Regions from separate parts of the Homo sapiens genome. Here regions 1, 3 and 4 are each linked to region 2. Evidence: promoter capture Hi-C in 16 types of primary human blood cells and fetal thymus (Javierre and others, 2016). All regions are on one chromosome and are shown on one strand. The core of a region is centred on a gene start or on the middle of the fragment in contact, and the rest is flanking DNA. Distances in the headings are between cores, read along the strand shown.

The links. The method cuts DNA at HindIII sites, captures the fragments that hold promoters and counts their contacts. A CHiCAGO score of 5 or more calls a contact.
Region 1: a contact is called between a fragment that was not itself captured here and the fragment with the promoter of SMAD1 in region 2, in 1 of 17 cell types (erythroblasts). The highest score is 5.1, in erythroblasts.
Region 3: a contact is called between a fragment that was not itself captured here and the fragment with the promoter of SMAD1 in region 2, in 1 of 17 cell types (endothelial precursors). The highest score is 7.8, in endothelial precursors.
Region 4: a fragment that was not itself captured here is called in contact with the fragment with the promoter of SMAD1 in region 2 in 1 of 17 cell types (erythroblasts); the score reaches 6.0 in erythroblasts.

Annotation. Positions count from the first base shown.
Region 1 is chr4:145,164,168-145,167,155 of GRCh38, reverse strand. It overlaps OTUD4 (OTU deubiquitinase 4), which reads left to right. Exons shown (of 21, transcript NM_001366057.1): 4 at 1,959-2,005; 5 at 2,930-2,988. Among named protein-coding and RNA genes, the nearest start is that of OTUD4, 15 kb to the left of the region's middle. The HindIII fragment of the contact is 5,397 bases long and covers 1-2,988 here.
Region 2 is chr4:145,480,239-145,483,335 of GRCh38, reverse strand. It overlaps SMAD1 (SMAD family member 1), which reads right to left and starts at 1,483. Exons shown (of 7, transcript NM_005900.3): 1 at 1,298-1,483. RefSeq lists silencers at 665-764, 855-914, 1,255-1,414, 1,585-1,714. The HindIII fragment of the contact is 17,310 bases long and covers 1-3,097 here.
Region 3 is chr4:145,216,418-145,219,451 of GRCh38, reverse strand. No RefSeq gene overlaps it. Among named protein-coding and RNA genes, the nearest start is that of OTUD4, 37 kb to the right of the region's middle. RefSeq lists an enhancer at 850-939. The HindIII fragment of the contact is 1,269 bases long and covers 1,006-2,274 here.
Region 4 is chr4:145,198,944-145,201,786 of GRCh38, reverse strand. It overlaps LOC105377465 (a long non-coding RNA gene), which reads left to right. Exons shown (of 3, transcript XR_939276.1): 2 at 162-304. Among named protein-coding and RNA genes, the nearest start is that of OTUD4, 20 kb to the right of the region's middle. The HindIII fragment of the contact is 2,661 bases long and covers 1-2,653 here.

The DNA.
Region 1 (2,988 bases), core at 354-2,853, 320 kb after region 2:
ATATTCTTACGGTAAAAGTTTTAAAATATAGATGTATTATAGAATAAAGGGTGAAAATTCTTCATTTTTCCTCATGTTAACTTCCCTGTCTCTATTGTCAATTTAGGATGTATCCTCCCCATCCCCTTTCTATGTGTGCACATGTACCAATATATATGCCTTTTTGTTTTTCACAAATAGTATTATTTTCCCATGATTTACTTTTAAAACTTAATCTTGAGTGATTTTTCTAGGTCATTTCATGTGGTTATACCTCATTCTTTTGAATGAATGCATGATATTCTATAGTGTGGCTGAAACATGAATTATTTTTTATGAGACATAGTTTCGCTCTTGTCTCCCAGGCTGGAGTGCAGCAGCGCGATCTCGGCTTACTCGACTGCTGCCTCCCAGCTTCAAGTGGTTCTCCTCCCTCAGCCCCCGAGTAGCTGGGATTATAGGCATGTGCCACCAGGCCCGACTAATGTTTTGTATTTTTAGTAGAGATGGGGTTTCACTGTGTTGGTCAGGCTGGTCTTGAACTCCCAACCTCGTGATCTGCCTGTCTCGGCCTCCCAAAGTGTTGGGATTACAGGCGTGAGCCACCACATCCTGCCTGAAACATGAATTATTTTACTATTCTGTAGGAATCTTAGGGACTTTTTTTTTTTTTTAAACACTGTTACAAATAACTCCCAGTGACATCATTATTTTACATACACTTTTGTAGATGTGAAATATTTCTTTATGATAGACGTATAGAAGTTGAATTGCTGGGTCACAGGGTATATGGGACATTTTAAATTTTGAAACATACTGGCCATTTGCCTTTCAGAAAGGCTTTAAGTGACTTTTCTAAGGAGTGTAGAATTTCTCTTGTTTTCAAAACAATTGCTAGGACACTGCTCTCTTTTGTACCTTCATTTACCCTGAAGAGAAGAGATCTTCTGCCCTTTTCTATACTTCCCAATTTTCTGCTTCTATTCAATATTTCTTTCTTTCTTTTTTTTTTTTTGAGACCGAGTTTTGCTCTTGTTGCCCAGGCTGGAGTGCAATGGTGCAATCTTGGCTCACTGCAACCTCTGCTTCCTGGGTTCAAGCGATTCTCCTGCCTCAGCCTCTTGAGTAGCTAGGACTATAGGCATGGGCCACCACACCCGGCTAAGTTTGTATTTTTAGTAGAGAGGGGGTTTCTCCATGTTGGTCAGACTGGTCTCGAACTCCCGACCTCAGGTGATCCGCCCTCCTTGGCCTGCCAAAGTATTGGGATTACAGGCATGAGCCACTGCGCCCAGCCGCCTCTATTCAGTATTTCATTTCCCGAGCTTATACCATGTGCCAGGCGCTCTCCTGAGGGCTAGGCTGGAGGATAGCCCTTGCCTTCAATACGTTCTCAACTTGGGCCAGGCGCAGTGGCTCACGCTTGTAATCCCAGCACTTTGGGAGACTGAGGCGGGTGGATCACCTGAGGTCAGTAGTTGAGACCAGCCTGACCAACATAGAGAAACCCCGTCTCTACTAAAAATACAAAATTAGCTGGGCATGGTGGCACATGCCTGTAATCCCAGCTACTTGGGAGGCTGAGGCGGGAGAATCGCTTGAACCTCGGAGGCAGAGGTTGCGGTGAGCCGAGATCACGCCGCTGCACTCCAGCCTGAGCAACAAGAGCGAAACTCCATCTCAAAAAAAAAAAAGTCTCAACTTAACAGATGCCATGCTGTGGTCTTGCCACACCAATAGGAACTGTCATTTCACCCTGTTAGTATTTTTTTGTGTATGTGTGGGAGAGACTTGGACTGCATTTTACCACATATTGTGGTCTGTTTTATATAAACGTTTTTATAATATTCACAATACTACTAATAATAATGAGCTTTAAGAACTCATTACGTATGCTGTATGAAGGTATGTATAGAAATATAAAGTGGAATCTAAAAAGTGTGAGACACTTACATGCCACCTTTTTTTCTTCAATACAGGAATGGGTAGGACAAGTGGAAATAAGTGCCCTTTCTCTTATGTACAGGTAAACACTGTAATAACATAAGTAAAAGAAAATGAAACCAGTGGGAAATTATATTCCATTATATTAAAAATGTTAAAATAGCAAAGCTCTTTTATACTTTAGTTATGAAGTATCTTTTCTAAGTTTTTTTTAATTGCATCAATTAGATTTTGACATTTAGATATGTCAGTGTTTAGAAATTTTAATTCTCAAAATACTTTGGAAAAGGGTACAGAAATTTTTCCGGTCTATGTTCTGTAAGATATCACTTATCAACTTTGTAGAGAAATGATTTTCTACTTTCTCAGGGTCAGTGGTATTGAATGGCCACTAGAACCGTACTAAAATACCATGTTACAAATTGGGTATTCCTTATCTGAAATGATTGAGTCCAGAAGTTTTTGGATTTCATTTTTTTTTTAAATTTTGGAATATTTACATTATGCTTACCCAGTTGAGCATCCCTAATTTGAAAATCTGAAATCCAAAATGCTCCAATGAGCATTTCCTTTGAGTGTCATGTTGGTGCTCAAAAAGTTTTAGATTTTGGAACATTTGGGATTTTGGCTTTTTAGATTTGGGATGCTCAACCTGTATTCAATTTTGCTACTTTTGCCTAGTAGAGGAGCAGGTAAATACTTTGTTTTTTCTTTTCAGAATGTTGTTTAAATTTCATCTTCAAAATTTCTTTGATTTTTGAAGTGTCCCTTTAGAATTATATCTGAAATTTAATATATATACAAATAATATTTGAAATTTTACATGTTAAAAAGGTTACTTTTATATAGATATTTTACAACTTAGTTATCTCATTATTGTCTTTTGTATCTCCAGTGGTTGGGACAGTGCCTGGCACGTATTAGGCCCTTGATGAATGAATGAATGATTAAATTCAAATTCATGAAGTATAGTCCATTATAAATAATTTCTAATTGTTATTTTCAGGAAAGATTTTATAATTTATCGGGAACCAAATGTTTCTCCTTCACAAGTAACAGAAAATA
Region 2 (3,097 bases), core at 234-2,733:
AGGCATTCTGAGATTTAGCGGCTGAGAGTTTCAGCAACAGGAAGAAATAACAGAAATCATGCAACTTCTGTATCATTCCACGTACTTTGAAACTTCAGATACAATGGAAAGAAAAGAGGGGGGAGGGCAGAGAAAAAGGACAGTTGTCTCAGCACTCACGAAAAGGATGCTTTCTCAGGAGATGGTTCTGAGACCGGCCTCAATTTTCAGAAGGAACGCGCCTTTACTGGTTATCTTGCACCGTGTATTTAAAAATTGCATGCTCTTCAAAATAAACAAAAGCTCAGCTACTGTAGCTGTGAGATCTGGCAGGCATTTGTTCCTCCTCCCCTCCTAAAGCACATCAAGAAAACGTTCTCCCTTTAAAGCCTTCATACAGTTTCAGCAACTAGAAAAACAAGCCCACATCTGTCTCTCACGCCCACCACCCCCACCTTCCTACAGAAACAACCCCGAGAAACACTAACAAAGACAGGGAGCAGAGTAAAGGAACAGTTGTTCAACCGCGAACTCACGAATACACATGCAGTGAGGCAATCGACTCCGGTAAAGGGAAAGGAACGAGACACCAGGAGACGCAGCGGGTGTAGGCGGAAGAGGGGGAAAAAATTACGCGCCGCCGCCAAACCTTTGAATAAATTAGAGGGGATCTCGGTGCGAACTTTCCTTGACCTCGACCCCAAAGAGGCTTGCTGGGGCCGAGAAGAAAACCCGTGCGGGATGTGGAGGGGCCCGGGGCGCCGGGGTCCCCCGCCCGCGAGACCCGCTCCACCAGGCGCCTTGGAGAGCAGCGCCAGCGGTCGTCCTCCAGCTCCCGCAGGGGTCGCCCCGCCGGCGCGGGGGACACAATGGGTCCGCGGGCCACGCGAACGGGCCTCGGCCCGGCGGCAGCACGGGAGAGATGTGAGGAGCGCGCGGAAGGGGAGCGCGGCCGGGGAGATCCCAGCGCGGTCAGGCCCGGGAGCCGAGGCTCGGGGGCCCGGGAACTGGGCTTCCCACAGCAGAAGACCCAACAAAGACACCAGGGGAGCCCGGCGGGCTGGGCGCGAGAAGACGTGGTAGCAGGTTCGCTCCTCCGAGCAGACGGGAGGCGCCATCATGGGGGGGGGGGGTCGCGGCCCGCCCCGCGCAGAAAGAGCCCCCTTCCCGCCGCTGCCCGCGCCCCCAGCCCAGCACGACCGCGGCGGCCCCACGCGTGCAGAGACGGCGGCGGCGGCGCTGGAAAGCCCGGGGCGCCGAGGGGAGGGCTGGGACGCGGCATGAAGGGAAAGTTCGGTTCGGGTCTGTTTCGTTTTACCGGGTTGGCGGCGCGCCCGTCCGTGTGGGAGCACGAGTGGCCGGGCGAGCGGGGTCTCGCGGCCCGGGTCCGGACGGCCGGGCGCTGCGCCACTCTCCGCTCCCCGAGCCTCGGCCCGGGTTGAGCCGCTCGGCCTCTCCTTTCTCCGCCCGCCCGCCTGCTTTCTCCTGGAGCCTGGATTGATCTGGTCGCGCTGGCGTCAGGGAGTCGGAGCTGCCCAGCCTCCACTCCTCAGCTGCCAATACCCGGCGCACTCGCCTGCCCGCCCGCCCGCTCACACGCTCACCCGCTCACCCGCGCGCCGCCGCCGCTGCCGCGCGACCAGGGATCCTCTCCAAATTCCCGGCCCGGCCGGCGTGAGCGCAGCGCGGCCGGGGCCGGAGGACGGCGCGGGGGAGCGGCCGGAGCCACCCCCTTCTACCGGCAGCCCCACGCCCCGTTTCTTCCTGGAGAAAAAACAGTGTGGCGGCGTTCAGGCTTTCCTAACCCTGCCTTTTTAGTCCCGGTGGAGCGGACTTAGTCCATTATCTGCAAGTGAATTTCGATGTTCCATATGTTTATTTTCTGAAATGTTCATTAACGCTTCCACCGCGCCCACTGAATCGTTCTATAAACGTGGAGTGCATGTTGACAGTTACCTTTCGAGACGCGCCCTTTTATGTCTATCTTTCGTTGCCCCTCACTCACTCTCCAATAATTTGCAGGCCCCAGAAGTTGTACGTACCCAGAATTGGATAGCCTAGTAAATACTGCACGTGGTTATACAAACCCTGAGTCAACAGATGCGTTTTGTGTCAACTCAGGATCCAGTGATTCGAGTAGGTAACCTTGTTGCTCCAAATAATGGCATGCCATAAGGAGATACTGCTTTAGAACTCCACATTTTTGGTCCAATTTCTACAGTCTTTTAGATGATGCCAACTCCCCCGCACTTAACTCTTACCTACCTGATCTGCATAGACATTGAAAATATCTTCTTGCAAGAGTCAACTTTTCTCTTGGCTAACTCTTGAAGCTGCATAAAATCTTGCATAATTACTATAATGTTGAGTTACGTTTAGAAAAAATGATTTTTTTTTGAGGAATAAATTTCACATGAAGCAAAAAAAAAAAAAAAAAAATCACTCCCAGCAATGTATATCAGAATATGTCTTCTAATTAAATTCCTTTTTCCCTTAACCTATTTGAGCACTTACTGGTCAATTCGTGGGCCTCATCTTATTTTCCCTAAAAGCAGCGTTTGACGCAGTTGATCATTCTCTGCTCCTTAGAACAACAGGAAAGTGAACCTTGTTAAATGCCACTCGGATCAGGCCACTCCTCTGTTGAAAACCCTCCCTTGATAAATAGTATAAAGTATCCCATACAAGAGAACATTATTCAGCCATAAAAAGGAATGAAGTACTGATACTGATGCATGCTACATGGATAACCTTTCAAAACGTGAAGGGAAAGAAGACAGACCACACATTGTATTCTTCCACATATGTGAAATGCTCAGAGTAGGCAAGGCTATGGAGACAGAAAGTAGATTGGTGGTTTGCATAGGGTTGGGGAAATGAGGAACCTGGGGAGTGACAGCTAAAGGTTATGGGGTGACAAAATTGTTCTAAAACTAGTTTCTGGTGATGGTTGCACAACTCTGTGCATATACCAAAAGCCATTAAATTGCACACTTTAAATGGGTCAATCATTTGGTATGTGAATTTTACCTCAAGCTATTAAAAAAAAAGCATGACAATGAAATGCAGTATATGACCTTGATTGGATCCTGAATGGGGAGGAGGAGCTATAAACTGT
Region 3 (3,034 bases), core at 391-2,890, 260 kb after region 2:
ACAACCAGATCACAATGCAGTGTACAGTAAGAGTTCTTACAGAAACGTGACACGTGTCCCCTGAAATTTGGGAGCACAGAAGCTGGTGCCTGGATGAGCCTGAACACAGGAGGATGTCTTGAGCTGCCAGCAACATCAGGGCCAGCATGCAAAACAGCAGAGGGCCCACAGTCTTACATAGCTGTAAATATTCTGAGTTCCAATTGAACTAGTAACTTCTCATAGCAAAATAGGAATTGCTTTCATGAACCAAAGACAAACATATATATATACCTACAAAATGGAAAAGGAGTTTAAGGTTTTATTATACTTTTCATATTGATGAAACATTGTTTATGTAATTCAAACATATATGGATAAAAATATGTTAAACATGTTACTGCTATCAAACCATGAATCCTTAAGTGGCTGTAGCTGGAGGCAGAAATATTTGAATATGTTATTCAATTCTTTGGAATAAAATTGTGCTCATTTCAGCAGCATATATACTAAACACTGGAATAAAATTATATTTGAAGGTGGGGTACTTACTTCCCTTTATTATAAATAGTATTTGTTCTGTATACAAGTATAGGTAAATAAAACCACAGAGAGTAATATCATTGAACTAATAAACTATTAGTTTAGTTGAATCACATACTTTCTATGATCAAAAGCTATTATCTTTTCCCAAAACAGTTAAATACTTCTAGTGCCTTGGGATAGACTGTTACATAAATCAGCCAAAGATAGCCTCTGTATATTAGCCTCAAAGTTGGTTGTTTCTCCACTGCAGGCTGAGACCCATTAGCTCAAAAGCCCACTGACACCAAACTTAAATTTTTACACATCCAGTTATTTTAAAAATAGCCTGACCAAGAAAAGTTTAGCTGCTTAGAGCCTGTCTGCTTTGCATACCCCGCAAAATCTCACCCAGCAGCTGTTACCTATTCATAAGACAGGGCCGTGTAGTTATAAGGCCTCAAGCCAAGCTGGGCTCTCTGACCCAGAGACTCTATGTAAGCTTCCTCTCCAATCTCTCTCTCCCTTGTCCTCCTCCCTCACCAGTAAGGCTGTGAGGGACTTCTCCTCTCATGCAACCCTGGCCAAGCACCAACAAACTTGTCACTGCCTCTCTTGTGGACATCCTGTTCCTTGATCAGCCCCATATCCCTCGACCCCCTACATAGACTAATTACAAATTCAGTGAAAAATTATAAGATGCTGCTGATTATGGTTAAGATATAACTATAGAAAAGAAAAAATTTGTGAACTGCATCTAAAATTCATTAATTGTAATCTGAGACTATTAAGAAAAGTTGTGAAATTTTATATGGATTCAAAAGATGTCAATCTGGGATAGGCAAAGAAATATGTCTCAAACTTAAAAAAATTCTTCCTATTTCCACATGCATTCAATAGGAATGGACCATCATCTTGATTCTCTCATTTACTAGTTGTGGGAATTTAAACAAGTTTTTCTTTTTGAAGAAAACTCTCTCTGAACTTCCAGTTCTGTTCCAATAAAATGGAATTAGTCGTGCTTATTTGCAATGTTATTGTGGGTTACTGTGAATATTATTTGAGATAACAAGTGTAAGTCACCTGCCACATAATGGGTTTTCAAAGTTCGTTAGCTCTCTACCCTAGACATGATAACAACACGTTTTCTTGAAAAGAAAAACTATCACTAACATATATAGGAAGTATTTCATTGATCTTTACAAACAGTATTTTCAGGAGTAATTTATTAAAGAAAAAGCTAACATTCAAAAGGCAGAGATGGCTCAAGTCACTCGCCTGTGAATAAGGCTATTCTTACTGTTCCCTGTCCTTGCCTTAAAAGAAGTTTTTATAAAACAAGTGAGTTGAAGAGTTTCCTTCCTGCTTTCAGCACTACTGTGGTTTCATTTGGAAGACAATGTGGTCTAGTGGGAAGACAGAACAAGGATCTTGGAGCCAGCTGATTCCAACACAGTGTAGAGGAGGCTAGCCACAAAGTCACCAACCTGAGACCCCAGGCAAATCCCTTGACCCCCCAAGCCCCAGTCAAACCCATGACAACCAAGTAAAATGTGCTAAAATCTGACTCTCTTTTCCTGAAAGGAAGGCATCTTTTAAAGGAACCAAAGTGCCTTGAGAATTTTTTTAATAGTGTCTTTCAGAAACATGAATTCTGAATGAAGTAGCAAAAAAGTGATAATATGAATGATAATATGTATGATTCCAAATACCGGAATCCATACAGATGGCAATTTCTCCACATCCTTTATTGCTAAATATTTGGCTTAAGCTTCCATTATGCCAACCATGGTAAATGCTGATGTCTGAAGTGTTGATTCAGAAAAATAGGTATAAGGGATTTCTTACATACATGAAAGAACTCCCTTTCAATCCAAACTTTTACAAAATTTGGGCCAAACAATAGTCTCCATTTTGCTTAGAACCTCACATTGAACTTCAGAACATTTTTAAGATTTTTGTTCTAAAAGTATCTAATCCAAGGCAAAGAACTGGAGAATATTTGTTGTAGAAAAAAAAAGGAAGACATCATTTAGTCAACATGTAGTTGCATAATGAAAGAGGTCTCAGGATGCCTAGCTTCTATATTAATTTATATTTCATTCTAGACCTCAAATAACATTTGGATCAGCTTTTAAATCCATCAAGCTGTCAAAACATACATACACACATCCAATAAGCAAAAATCTCTGTAACACATGCCCAAGGATCTAATGCCACCTAAAGGCAACTGTAGCTAATTGCAAAAACAAAACAAAACAAAAAAAGGATATATGACAAGATATTAAAACTTTTCTCCCTGGATATAAACATAAATGATATGTTCTTAGCTTAATACATTCCTATGTTGCTTACAGACAATACCTACTAAAGTGAGTGACAAATTTAGCATAATCAATTTTAAAATACAAATAGCTACTCAGGGGCAAAATCTGTGTGTTTGTGTGTGTATGTGTTCAGTATTACAATAAATCAAATAAATACAATTAAAACTAGGGTAGAGTCTTTTTAAAATTCAATGCTGAATAGCCAA
Region 4 (2,843 bases), core at 74-2,573, 280 kb after region 2:
TAAAAAAATATTGAAATGTATCAAACAAATTTTTAAAAAAGAATAAGAGAAGGCAATTTGGTCAGAGGATATTAAGACAAGGCTACTTGTATATATGTTTTATTTTATATTTTTCTCAGAAAAATAAAACTAGCTTTAAATAGTCACTGGTTTTATTTCAGGACTATGACTGGAGCTTCTCTTCACTGCAATATAGAACAGCATCAAAGGCAAATAAGACCAATAGAATCACATTGCTAATACTGCCCTCATTTCGTTGTGTGCACACCATCAAACAGGCAGATGAAGAGGATCCTTGTCTTGGGTAGATTCAGTACTTTTTTAAAAAGTCGAACAGTGTTCAATGTTTAGTAATAATATTTTTGTACCCTGGGCTCTACCTAATTATTCTTCCTAAACCAACTTTTATAGGCAAAGGTTGAACTATATACAATACACCTTCAGGGGTTTTCCTTTCAAAATATAATGTATCTACACTATGGGTGAAGCAGTATAGCATAGTAGATGAACTTAGGAGTCAGTGAAGCCTTGGTTCAAGTTTTGTCAAGTTATTGTAATTTTAGTATTTTCATATTTAAAACAAATAACAAAACTTCCTAGAGTGACAATTAAACAAGATAATATATGAAAAACATAGTTCCTTAAATAAAATGGAGTGTTAACAAATAGAGGCTATTGCTATTACAGTATGCTATCTGAATATTCCTTAGGCACCATATACAGTTGGCCCCCTGTATATCCGCAGGTTCTGCATCTGCAGATTCAACCAACCGTGGGTTGAAAATATGTGCAAAAAACCATTTTAAATAGCAATACACCGATAAAAAAATACAAATAAAAAAACACAACAAATATTTACATGGCATTTACATTGTATTAGGTATTATAAGTAATCTAGAGATGACCAAGTATACCAGAGGATACGCATAGGTTGTACGCAAATATGACACCATTTCATACAAGGGACTTGAACAGCATGGATTTTGGTATCTGCAGCGATCTTGGAACCAATTCCCCCTTTCACACTCCCCCACCCCACCCCATGGATACTGAGGGAGGGCTGTCCTGTAGTACATATTTAAATAAGACCCCTAAAGGGAAATAACCACATTTGTAACGCTATGGAATTTCCATTCATCAACTAAATAGCAAACAACATGCATGGCACTGTAACAGATGTGCCAATTGCCATCTAATTGGCAATAACAAAATGTATATATGCAAAATATGGCCTTAGATACCGTTAGCTAAAAATGTAAAATTGTGCCATATGGGCGGTTAGGGAAGAAGCACAGTGTAAAGTAGCAAATGGTTAGTACATATAAAATATGCTGAAGGAATAAAGAGTGGAAGTGAGAATGCGGTCAAGGGTCCTCAGGAAAGTTAACATTTTAGGATACTCAATTATAAGTGATAGAAACCTAACACAAAGTAGCTTAGGGGGAAAAATAAATTAGTTGGTACAAGTAACTAAACCGTGGTAAGGGCCAGGGCACATTTGTGCCTGTGATAATACTAAAACCAGGCGCTCTAACGCCAACATTTTTTTTTTCATTTTCCTCCTACTGTTGCTTTTCTCTATATGTCAACTTCATTTTCTTAGACTGACTTTTTCCACAAGGCTAGGAAATTACTAAGCCAAGGGAAAAGTCAAGCTGGGAACTAGGTCAGACAAACCTGCCTCCCATTTTATTTCTAAATAAAATACCTACAAAGCTACATACCTCCCTCACAATTTGCCCACAAGGAAATTCCTTGTGGGCCTCAAGATCTTTACCCTAAAACAGTTCTGTTGAAGTTCATCCTGATCGCTTATCTTCACAGATGTGAGCAGAAGCTCATCCCTCTGCTCACCTGAGAGAAATGCATATCTGATGGCTTCCTCTGCCCTAATATTCATGTAAAAATGTGGATTCACTGAGCCAGACTAAATTGTGTACTCAGTAAAAAGCTGATCAAGGACTCAAAAAGAATGTAACCCTTTGTCTCTCACCTACCAGTGTCCTAGAAGCCCCTTGCTTTGAGTTGTCCCATCTTTCCAGACCGAACCAATGTACATCTTATATGTATTGATTGATGCCTCATGCCTCCCTAAAATGTATAAAATCAATCTGTACCCTGACTACCTTGGGCACATGTTGTCAGGACCTGCTGTGGCTGTGTCATGGGCGTGTCCTTAACCTTGGCAAAATAAACTTTCTAAATTGATTAAGATCTGTCAGGTACTTTTGGGTTCATATCACGGATAGCAGATTTAGGGAGCAGCCACTACCCACAGAACCGAGATAAGGAAGCCCATTCCGGGCTGACATCCAGACCTCATAGAAACAGCAAGGACTTAGCTCAGTGGATGGCAGAGAAGTTTGCGGAGGTGCCATACTAATGAAACTTGCTGGAAATCCACCTAATGAAGTGCTGGGGGAAGCTGTTCATGGAGAAATAACTTGTCGCCAGCACTCCACTGTCAAGTCACCAAAGAGGTCCCATGAAAAGCTGTTCATAGGGAGGTGCCATATGCTAATAATCACTGGGTGCAACTGGGTGTGGCTGAGTACTGCAGGAGCCTGACAAGAAGAGCACACTGCAACCAGGGAGAGAGAAACTCTTTTCTTCTCCAGCCAGCATCCCCCCAACACCCTCTACTGACAAAGCTTAACATCATGGCAACTGGCAAAGGAGAAAGTCTAGCTTCATTATTATGGTGCAGGCAATGAAGTGTGGATTTGGAGCTAAGAAGCAATAAACTAGTAATTGACACAGATTATTTATGGAATTTTCTTAAATACTCATCTTGAAAAAATACCATCCATCAGCCTTATGCTGCTCTACTTAAACACAACTTA